Linked DNA regions of Homo sapiens: region 2 is linked to region 1. Evidence: promoter capture Hi-C in 16 types of primary human blood cells and fetal thymus (Javierre and others, 2016). All regions are on one chromosome and are shown on one strand. Each heading gives the region's core, a stretch centred on a gene start or on the middle of the fragment in contact. The rest is flanking DNA. Distances are from core to core; before and after follow the strand shown. Region 1 holds the start of CLDN1 (claudin 1). Region 2 overlaps BCL6 (BCL6 transcription repressor).

Region 1 (5,642 bases), core at 1,224-3,723:
TGGTCTCAGTGCTGCCTTTACTGTTTATGTTTCAGATATGAAAGGCCAGTATTTGGAAGCTGTTTTTCCTCTTAAGTTGATAGATTTATGCTGAGCCATTATCTCACCTGTCCTCTGCACTTAAGCTAGGAGCAGAAAACTAGACAGGATTAAGGATGCCTAGAGATGGGCCTGAATCACAGTGAAGCAAACAGCATTCACCTCAGCCTCACAAACATGGTTGTGGGTAGTGAAGTAATCAGCCTCGCACAGACCTGAAATACAAAACAAAAACACGGGACCCTGCTGACCACAGAACTCATCCCTCCGATTCCCCGCTAATTGTAGGTTGATAGAAACCAGTTGTAATGCAGAGTAAAAGGGCCTGTGCACAAATATATTTACTGAACGCAGAAAATGTCATTTATTTGTTTATTTATTTATTTATTTATTTGTTGAGATGGGGTCTTGGTCTGTTGCCCAGGCTGGAGTGCAGTGGCACGATCTGGGCTCACTGCCACCTCCGCCTCCCGGGTTCAAGCAATTCTCCTACCTCAGCCTCCCAAGTAGCTGGAATTACAGGCGCCCACCACCATGCCCGGCTAATTTTCATATTGTTAGTAGAGACGGGGTTTCACCATGTTGGCCAGGCTGATCTCGAACTCCTGATCTCAAGTGATCCGCCTGCCTCAGCCTCCCAAAGTGTTGGGATTACAGGCGTGAGCCACTGCGCCTGGCCTGAGCCACCGTGCCCGGGTGTTTAATAATACTTTTAATTCTTAAATGTTTGGAACAAAAAAAAGAAGAAAATGAGATTATATGATTCACATGGTACTGCTCTAGTCCTGCAGCAAATTCCAGTGCCTTCTCTGATCAGGGAATTTTTACAAAATCAAATGTGATTGATACATCTTCATCCACACTGACAGGCACCCACAGAACATCCACTGAGACCTAGACAGTAGTACTGACTGCAGGCCCTAACCCTGGGATACAACACGAACATGGTCTTGTCCTAAACAGCTGATAGGAGAAAGACAGTATTCACTGTGTTAATCTCAGTCCAAATTAATTGTCTTCATCTAGCTCCTGTCTTACATTCTTCATTGCTTGTCCCTAAATCCTAGCACGGCCAAGTCCTTTAGTTTTAAGCCTACATGAAAGGCATCCAGGGAGAGCCAGGTGGAAATGAAGGTGGTGGGGCTTGGCCTTTCTTCCCATTCCCACCTTGAGAATTTGCACCTTTCCTTCTCTGTCACCAACTAGCAGTTGCCATGGTATATAAGGGTATATCTTATTTTATCCTTAATATGTTTATTTCTGCTTCCAAGATGCTTCTGTTTTTACTAAAACCATAGAAGCTTCCCCTCCCACCACACTCGCACCACACACAAAAAGCAGTTGGAAAAACATTTCAATGATTCCTAACCACAACAGCACTTCTGACTAACTACAAAGAAGGAAGCTTTGGAGAAACATAGAGGGAAACTACAGTCCCAGCGAGACCGAAACCGGAGGGGTGAGATAGCCAGTCACAGTAAAAGCTGGAACCAGAGCCCAGACTTCCTCAACTCCAGCCCAGTCCTTTTGCCACTGGGGAAACGCTGTTTACATGTCCTCACCTGCGACGAACAACATTTGATAACTCACAAAATTAACACCTTTCAGGGAGAGCGGGGCACTGGCCAGGTCCCTCTGATAATGAATTGCTGCTCTAAGACATAACTGCTGTGGGGAGGAGGTTGGTGTTTGGCGGGGAAGGGCTGCTAGCCTGCAGTTTCATAAGGACAATAATACATCAAAAAGGACAATCATAGATCAAAGGGGATATTTTGGGTCAACTTGATATGTAGTGGAAAGCAGATTGGGAGGGGAGCCAAGTACTGGATATGCTCCGTGCGTGAGTGTGTCTGTGTGTGTGTGTGTGTGTGTGTGTAAATCATGTTGCTCTCTGGGTCTGTTTCCCAATCTGTAGAGTGTAAAAGTCTCTGAGGCTCCTTGCAGAGACAAGTGATGGAACGACCTTGACAGAAGAGAGCAGAGAGAGGAAAGAAGGGGGAGGAAGCCAAGCAAAGGAGAGAGAAATGGTGTGATGGGGGAGGAGACGCGGAGTTGGGTAGAAATGCCTTTTAATAAGATATTGGGAAAAAAGTATTAAACCTAAAACTGCAGCTCTTGAAGGATCATTTTTTCATCTTTGTGTTAGGATTTACAAGTACAGTGCATAGTAATTTTTGGATAATTGGAGTGAATGAATGAAAAGCGTGAAACGCCTTACAGGAGCGAGAAGATCCACGAGAGAAAGCGAGCAGGGACGCAGCTCTGGTGCCTGGTCCTGCCGGGTGGTCCCCACGCCGCCAGCCGCGCGTTCCCCAACCGGGCGCTCCCGGCGCCCTCTCGGTGAGCCGCCCTGAAACCGCCAGGGGGCGCTCCCCGGCTGCCGGGGCTGAGGCGGGCGGAGCTGCTTTAAATCGCGGCGCCCAGCGGTTCTGCGTCTCAGTTCCCGAGCCTGGGAGCAACCGCAGCTTCTAGTATCCAGACTCCAGCGCCGCCCCGGGCGCGGACCCCAACCCCGACCCAGAGCTTCTCCAGCGGCGGCGCAGCGAGCAGGGCTCCCCGCCTTAACTTCCTCCGCGGGGCCCAGCCACCTTCGGGAGTCCGGGTTGCCCACCTGCAAACTCTCCGCCTTCTGCACCTGCCACCCCTGAGCCAGCGCGGGCGCCCGAGCGAGTCATGGCCAACGCGGGGCTGCAGCTGTTGGGCTTCATTCTCGCCTTCCTGGGATGGATCGGCGCCATCGTCAGCACTGCCCTGCCCCAGTGGAGGATTTACTCCTATGCCGGCGACAACATCGTGACCGCCCAGGCCATGTACGAGGGGCTGTGGATGTCCTGCGTGTCGCAGAGCACCGGGCAGATCCAGTGCAAAGTCTTTGACTCCTTGCTGAATCTGAGCAGTGAGTGCACCCCCACCTCACAGCGGCCGTCCAGAGGCCCCAGTCCCCCTGCAGCTCCCTTATGGGCTCATTCTGTTGTGTGATTCCATGGTTATCAGTCTTCAGTTGATCAAGTCTTCTGATCATGTGCTCTGTCATAAGGAAATGAAGAGAATCCTGGTTTGAGGAAAGCGACGCCCAGGCATAAGCTCTAGTTTTGCCTCTAACTCCCTGGGTGACACTTCTGCCACTCTAGGTGTGGCTTCATCCTAAATTCCTATGCTGGTGGTTCGAGTTGAGGGAGTGAAGGCCAAACTTGAACTTGAGCTCTTAGACCTCTCCTAGGCATTCCGAGATTTGGGGTAAATTGAGGATTGGTAGAGTTCAGACAAGAAAATGGGATGACTGAAAAAGTTTGAAGCCTGGTAACTTCTCAAGTGTGCACGCTTAAATAAATAATCCTCAAGTATTAGATATAACTTTTTAACCTTTAATATGATTTTTTCATAGTAAAAGTTACATTCCTACTGGAAATGTCCTATCTAAGTGTCTTCTGCTTATGCTTGAGGTTGATTCTTTTAATTTATAAGATCCAGTTAGTGCAGGGAGGCCCCTTGCAAGACTCTTTGGAGAAGCTGCTTGAGATTCCCCCGAAGTTTTAATTTTCAGACCCAAGGTCTTCTGTAGAGGCTGACGGTGTAGTGCTATCTTGGAAAGAGAAGGTTGGTGGCAGGTGGGGAAAGGCTGACAAGAAAGGTTCTAAATAACCTGCGCAACATAATACAAAGAAAAAAGTAAAGGCACTGAAGGGAAATGCAGCAAAATAGTCATAGCTGATGAAATCAGAGGTCAGCTGGGAGTGGAAGGCAGTGAGAGAGAAAGAAGAGGTGGGTCTTCCTTAGGTTTCCATCTTCCACAAAGAAATTTCTGTGTAATGGATGTTCAGTGACCCCCTGTAAAACTGGAAAGGATTGTATAGAGAGACATATTTCTAAGGATGGTGGGAAGAAGGATAATAGGATAATTGTTTTACTTTGTTTTTTAAATTAAAGGTTTCGAGTTCCTTGTCCGAAAAGTCATTAAATTCCCATTTACTTAGATAATAATGATTCACGGCTGGAGTATCTTCCTTGAGAAATCACATTAATTGTCTTATATCATGTGTCTGTTATGCCCTTTAACTCACTTGAAGAAAAGATCCCTTAGTCTTTGCCTAGATGAACGTGACTGCCCACTGGCCCCCATTGCATGCTAAGGGTGAAAAGTGTTGGCATTGTTCAAGTTTACTTAACTTGTTTTGTCTACCTCCTATCAAGGGACAACTTTTAATAGTGTATATCAAAAGCCATATAGTTTAGAGTTATTAAACCTGTTCCAAATCTGTTTGAACACCTTGAATACCTGTGGCATTTGCTCAGTCAATGTGCATGGTTGTTTTGAGTGTTATTATTTCAGCTTTTGAAGGTTCTCATATCAGGACTTCTTTACACCAAAACCAATCCATAAGTTTAGTAATTATGTGTTGCTCATTGCCCTCAGGGGTTATATTTGTACTTATAAAATGAAAAATTTGGTAATAATTATTGAATTTCTCCATGGAAAGATAAATATATTTAAGGAAACGGTGTCAGGCATTTTAGGTACCACGTTAAGGAATTGGCAGGTGGAGGTTTCTAAGGACAATTCCAGAGAGGTCTCACTGTCAGTTTTATTCCTCTGATCAAAATAGTTCCTTTTCAACATCTTTAAATAGGTTTTCTTTTAACTTCCTGAAATGACCAAATGAAATCAGATTGATCTATGTTGTAAATACTCAAATGGATCATCCTTACACATGATAATGTGTTAAAATGTTTTACTTTCATTTTTTGGTTAATGTAGTTATTACAGTTTTTAAAACTAGGGTGAAAGGACTAAATACCTACCCCCCCACACACACTTTAGAGATGTCTTCCTATTTTTTTAAAACTCCAGATCAGAATCCACTTTTATTTTACTTAAAGCCATAGTTTATCCAAGGTGTGGCTTAGGCCTTTCTCTCAAAACCCATTCTCAGAAGAGGGACCCTTGACTCACAGGTGTTCTCCTCTCACCTGCCGTGACTCACGGGATGCTTTTGGATAGAACCCAGGAAACCTTACTTCATTTCTCTGCCTGAGCAGTGGTGTTTACGCCCACCAGCTGTAGAGATCTGGGATGGTGATTCATTGGCTGGTTTTGGTACAGTTTTGTTACATGTAGAGATGAAAAGGGTTATGTGTGTATATTTAAGCAGTATCACTCAGAAAAAAGCTGCATTTCATTAAGTGTGTTTAGGTGAAAAGCTTAGCTGTGGGTTTCCCGAAATTGTACCTTGCCGTCTTTCCCAGTAGAGCACACTTGTCTTCCCGGCCAGATGCAGGGCTTTAGCACGGGAAGTATTAAAATCTGTTGTTTCCCTGCTTTATGTAGGGTAGGTCATAAAAAGCATATGACCTTCATAAAGTATCTGAAGGAATACAGTGTGCTAATAGTGTATACAGTAAATACAAAATGAGATAGAGCAAGGCTTCTTCTTTTAGGTAGTTCTTGCCAAGCGGTTTATGAAAATGTAACTGAGGCACTTCCTGGGGAAACAAATGTCACATTGTGTATTGTAGTTTTATAATGGCTGATACAATTTCCATTTCATCCAAAGTATGTGATTTTATTGACCCTGGGGATTCTTGTAGCTGAAAGTTGGAATATA
Region 2 (5,642 bases), core at 1,094-3,593, 2.6 Mb after region 1:
GGGTTTTATACCAATGCTTTCTTGAAAAGACTAACTTATTCTGGGTTTGGTGGATAGGGATGGGACTCTAAATGCTTAAGTTGTCGTTTGCTGAGCCCTTGAAGAGTTCCAGTTATTGGTTGAGTAAATGGTAGCCACGGCTAGATGTCAAAACCCTTCCTTCCCTCTATCCCCTACAGGGTAATGACACTCACAACCCACTTTGTTGTGAAAAACTTAAGAGATATAGAGGAGGCGGTGCAGCAGCGCCACCCCTCGGTGGGTGAAACTATTGGCAAAAGTCAATTTTTGAAAAATATTGGGAAGTGAACTTATGAAACATTTTTCCCCCAGAGATTTAAAAAAAATAGGGGAGATAAAACTAACGGATAAAAAGGACTTTGAAGTTTATCAAGTAGGGAAGAAAAATGTTGCTTTCCAACTAGGATGGTGTTATAATAGGCAACGTGGTTCTAAGGTTTTTTTTTTTGGTGGGGGGAGGGTGCCTGGTTGATTTTAAGTAGAAGAGTTCTCCAGGCGGAGGTAGCCCGGCCTTCCCCTTGGATTGACTTCTCAGGGCATCTTAATTCTGCTGCCTGTCTGATACCGAGATAGTGAGGGATGTTTTGGTGTAAAACACCATAGTGGCTGGAAATGCTGTAGTTTTGCCGGCGGTGGCAGGACGTATGTGTAGGGGGTGTGTTGAGGAGGTTTGTGGATGGCGTGGAGCAATGGTAGGCTGGTCTGTAGCCCTCTGTGAATCAACATCGAATGGCGCGTGCCGGTTTCCAGCACTGCGCAACAAGTGGGACCGCCGCTGCCGCCGCGAGCACAGCGAGGGTGCAGCGTGGTGGCAGAACTGGCTGGTTTCTCTTTGCCCCAGTGGAAACCAGGAACGGCCCCTCCCAACCCTCCCGATGTCCACTCCGAGACCCACAACTTCACCAAAAGACCATACCCGACTCCCCACTCCCCCGCTTTGCCAGGCGCAGTGAGCCTGAGTGGGATCCAGCACTCGGCCCCCAGCGCCCCTTTCCTCCGAGAAGATCAGGAGTTTATTCCCGACTTTCTTTGCTGGATGACCAGTGTTTGGCAAGAATCTCTGCCAATACTGTCGAGTGCCATTCTGCCTTTTGAAGACAAGTGCACCTTCTTTCCCTTCCCAGTACATAAAGCTTTTCGGAGGCTGGGGGAGAAATCAACTTATGATACATGAAACCAGCTCCAGATACCGCGTTGTGGTTGCTAGAGGCGGGAGCATCGGGAGGAACGGAATTACATACACTAAATTAAATGTTTTCTAGCTTTGCTTTTAGAGGCAATCACACCCCCAACCCTCGCCCCCACCAGACAGAAAATAAAGAGGGGCGGGTAGGGATCGGTGTGGAAGCTGCGGCCGCGCGGCGATTCTCGGACGGGCTGGCCTGCCACCTAGCGGTGGGCTGAGATCGAGTTCGCGGCCATGGGCGGTGGGCTCGCCGTTCCACCTCCCGGGCGGCGGTACCCTGACCAGATGCTAGGACTGACAGAAGGAGGGCACCCTCCAATGGGGATGGCATACAACCTCCAAAGTTTTGGCAAGAGGGATGAAAATCAGAAAGGCCTCGCTGCTTGCCCATCACTCAGCGATGAGCATCTATTTGCACTAAGAAAAACCACAAATAACCCGCTTCGAACACACCATCTTCCTGTCCCTGTGGCCCCTCTTAGGGGAAGTCGGTAGTGGAAGGATGCCACCTAGGAGCTCAGGGGCTTTGGGACGTACAACTCTGTTTTGCAGTTGAGGAAACAGGCCCGACGAGGAGGCTTGTTAGTGGTGAGTTAGTGACTTAACCAGGACCAGATTTTAAGCTTCTGAATTTCATGTCAGTGACTGAAAGCCAAAGGCGGGTTTATCTCAGCTCCTTAGAAGTATTTATGAGAAAGGAGCGGCTGCCAGAACCATGAGTTTAACCTCTTAGGTCACCTTTGTTGCCAGTGTTCATTGGAAACCGCTCCCCAGCAGTCTTGGAGGATTTTTTTTAAAGAAAATATGGCCTAAGATTTTCGGTAATGACACGAAAAGCCCAGATGGTGCTGAAGGGTGTGGGTCTCGGAGCTCGGGGGTTTGCGTGTTAAGAGGGGGGTTAAGGCCTGGACCAAAGACTTGCAGGGCGAGCCTCGATTCTGAAATCGCTCTCTTCCCCTTCCTAACATCCTCTGCATAGTAGCCTGGCGAGAAACCGGGTGTGTGTGTGTGAGGGGGTGGGGGTCATGTGGATAGGCCAGAATTTGTGCCACAACAGTTCCTCCGTAAAGTTTTCTTTCTCCGAGCTCGTGACTTAAGATGGCAAACGCGCGTCCGCATGCTGGCGGCCCCTAGCGGCAGCAGGCGCGCTCTGCAGGGGGAGACAGCGCCGTCGCCCCCGCCCGGGTCGGCGGGGATCGAGTTCGGCCCCTCCCACTGCGGGAGCCGTCGGAGGCCGCGTCGGAGAAACGCGCCTCTGTTCGGACTGGAAACGAATCTGGGAACGAGTTTGAAGCGCGGTCAAGTTTGACTCATCGCTTTCCAAGGACAGTTAGTGCCTTCCATCTTCATTAACGTGAATAAGGACCTTGGCTGACTTCTTTCCAGATCGGATTTTTAAAGGCATTGTTTGCTTGAGGAGATCATGCTTCTCCCCTCCCCCGCCAGCCTTTTTGCAAAGGCTGAGCCCAGTCCAGCCAGGACGGCCGAGGGATCTCTGCTCCGGGACGCGATTTGCTGGCATTGTCTTCGGGCCCTTCTGGAAGGCTGTCTCGCGCTGAGCGTATGGGGAACGTCCCTTCTGCAACTCCTCTTCAGATCTTGATGATAAAACACATCCCTCTGTTTTATTGCATTTCCTAGAAGCTTGCAGGCTTGCAAGAGCACTGTTGGCAGGAAACGTGATAGAAATGAAAGTCAGGACACAATGTCCCCGAACACCTCGGTTATCCAAAGCGGCTGTCGAGGCCATCGCGTTATCAAATTCGCTTTTATTTACTGTCGTCTCCTGCACCCTCCCGTTCCCCAGCCAAGAGGGCGAAGAGTGTTTTCCCCCAAGAATAAAAACAGCTCCGCGATTTGACCTCACCCCCTGCCGCCGGACCACGGTGGTGTCTGCAGCCGTGCAGCTAGTTGGCTGAAACACTGCTGAGACCGGGAGCCCCACGGCAGGGCCCCTGATGCGGGGTTCACTACGGCAGTTGCAGCCTTATTAAAATTCCTTGTCCTTGTCCCTAAACAGTGCTTTACACTTTCAGATTTCCCTTTGGATTTTTCAGCGGGTTATTGGAGTTATTAGATTACCAATAATCCAACAGCCTCTGTAGCCTCTCTGGCTGGAGAGGAGGGGGGAAGGGCGGAAGGCATTCTCCAAATCGGGAGGCTCTGGCCAAACTAGGTCAATGGGAAGGAGGGGAGGGGCGAGAAAGGGGTTGACGGTTTCAAACCTTGATGGAGGGCTCTCTCTAGCGTTAGGCAGCGGTAAAAACACCATTCGGTTTGAGCTCCCGGAACCACGGGACTCCTAATTTCCAATAAATGCACTTACTTCATTTTAACTTCCCAGATTCTCATCCCTACCCCTTATTAAATCCCAACCGTCTCTTTCACCTTTATCCCACCGGGCGAAGGGGTGAGAAAGCCTCAATGTAGGATTTTGAGGCCAAAGGCTCGTTCTTTGCAGACCGACTCTGACCCTTCCGCTTGCCGCAGAAGGGATGAGCGGCGCAGTGTGACGCCACTGGCTAGTTTTAGGACCAGACTGCGGCCTTTGTGGCTGAGTCTTTCGCTGTCCCCTAGCCCCCGAAAGCGCACCCCGGAGCCTGCTACCGAGACCAATTAGGACATGGCACCCGGGGGTTATAATTCCCGGGAGGGCCACAGGAAGGCGAGGCAACTTTGGAGAGTGCCAGTGCGCGCGCAGGGGTCGGGGCCCCGGCCTTTGCCGAGTCCAAGCTGTGTCTCTACGGTTTCGGGGAAATCGGATTCGGAAATCCTTACGGCTTGGCAGCTCCTGTTCTAAAGACTTTGGGCGGAAACCAAGTGGAGCTGGGTTCCCGTTCTTGCCAACGTAGGCGGAAGGGGCTTTCTGTTTAGTTTTTCTCCAACCTTGCCTGGGGCGCCTATGATGGAGACCCTCAGCCCCTAGGGACTCCATCTTTTGACCTTGAAGTCTCGCTCAAACATTCCCCTAAAAGAACGGGGGTGAGGGAGAATGGAAGGCAAAAAGAGGGAAAAAAGCAAATAAACTTCGGAATCGGACAACTTAAAGTCTCGATATGAGCCTCGGATTGTATTCGAACTCCTGGGTTCTAGACCCAGCTCTGCTACTAACTTGTCTGACCTTCCCCATTTATAAACTGTTGTGGGTGAGAGGTGGGACTAGGTGAACTCTGAGAGCCCTGCACTCGGCGCGGACGAGGGATTTAGGGGAAAGTGTGCTGTATTCCCCGCGAGCCTTCCCCAGCGGCCCCGCCTCCCTGGGTGAATCCCCGGCGGCCAGCGCAGCGCAGGCAGCGATCCTGGCGGCTGCCGGGGCCGGCAGCTTCCTGGAAAGTTACTTCTTGTTGGAGCCGGCAATAGGCAAAGTGTGTTCTGTGAAATCCGCAGAGCCGAGATTGACTACGTTCCGGGAATGAGAGGGCTGTGTCATTCCCCTCATTGCCTGCTGCATTGACGGCGTAACAGGAAAAAAAAAAAAAAAAAAAAAAAGGCATACACACAATGTTAGCTACCGAGGTGCACCAAAAGTTTTATTTGAATGTAACTAAATTAAGGGCCGCCACGGTCATACCACAAAGCCTCCGTCGCGCCTTGCGGGGGGCTTCGAGGTGGATCGCCCAGGGGCGGGCAGTCCCTGGAAGACAGGTACGGAGTGGTCGGGGTGGGGTAGCGAAGTCTGCCTAGGCTTGCCCCGGCGCGCAGGGCTGGTGTTTGTGCTCTTATGTGTGAGCGAGAAAATGGGGCTTTCTGGTGCCAGCCCAGGGGAGGAGGGAGGAAAAGGATGGGGTCTTTTGTATTGGCTTGCTCTCTGGCTCTTAACCTCGCCTCTCCCTCTTCTCTCATTTTCTCTCTCTCTCTCTCTCTCTCTCTCTCTCTCTCTCTCTCTCTCTCTCTGTCGTTTCTGCTGTCTTCTCTCTCTCTTTGCTTTTTTTTTTTTTTGGTTCCTGTTTTCTTCTTCAATGGAAAGCTCTTTTAAAGGATCTGTCTTCTCAAGGAGCCTAGTTGGCTATGCACAAGGAAAGCGCCAAAAGAGCTAAAGGGAGGAAGGGAAGAGAAAACATTTAACTCTCCCATGGTGGTTACTGACCCAGCGTGGGTGCGGGGAGATTGGGATGGGAAGTCCAGGTCTGGGGGCAGCCAGCAGTTGTCAGTTTCTCATTGACAGCCCTGCTCCTTGGAGATTGTTTTTGTGGGTAGTCTTGTGTGTGGCATTGGTGGAATGGCTGAATCTAGGAGACGCGGCGTGTCCAGAACTTGCTGGAAATTGGTTTTGAGATTTTGGGCAAGGCCTCTCACCCGGAGCCTCAGTTCCCTCCCTAATAAAGCAGGGCTGTTATAAGGATAAGATGCAATCTTGAGGGGGTGGGAAAGGACTAAGAGCTCTGTAAAAATACAAACCAAATGCTGGTGGTGCTTCCACACCTGCGGCATTTGG

The links. Contacts are between HindIII fragments. The CHiCAGO score rates a contact against its expected background, and 5 or more counts as called.
Region 2: a contact is called between a fragment that was not itself captured here and the fragment with the promoter of CLDN1 in region 1, in 1 of 17 cell types (naive CD8 T cells). The highest score is 5.9, in naive CD8 T cells.

Annotation. Positions count from the first base shown.
Region 1 is chr3:190,319,277-190,324,918 of GRCh38, reverse strand. It overlaps CLDN1 (claudin 1), which reads left to right and starts at 2,473. Exons shown (of 4, transcript NM_021101.5): 1 at 2,473-2,935. The coding sequence starts at 2,713. It also overlaps a transcript of CLDN16 not described here. RefSeq lists a silencer at 2,323-2,482. The HindIII fragment of the contact is 3,794 bases long and covers 1,447-5,240 here.
Region 2 is chr3:187,736,807-187,742,448 of GRCh38, reverse strand. The region is part of intron 1 of BCL6 (BCL6 transcription repressor); the gene reads left to right. Among named protein-coding and RNA genes, the nearest start is that of BCL6-AS1, 4.0 kb to the left of the region's middle. RefSeq lists enhancers at 259-758, 759-1,260, 3,353-4,332 and a silencer at 2,676-2,851. The HindIII fragment of the contact is 1,021 bases long and covers 1,833-2,853 here.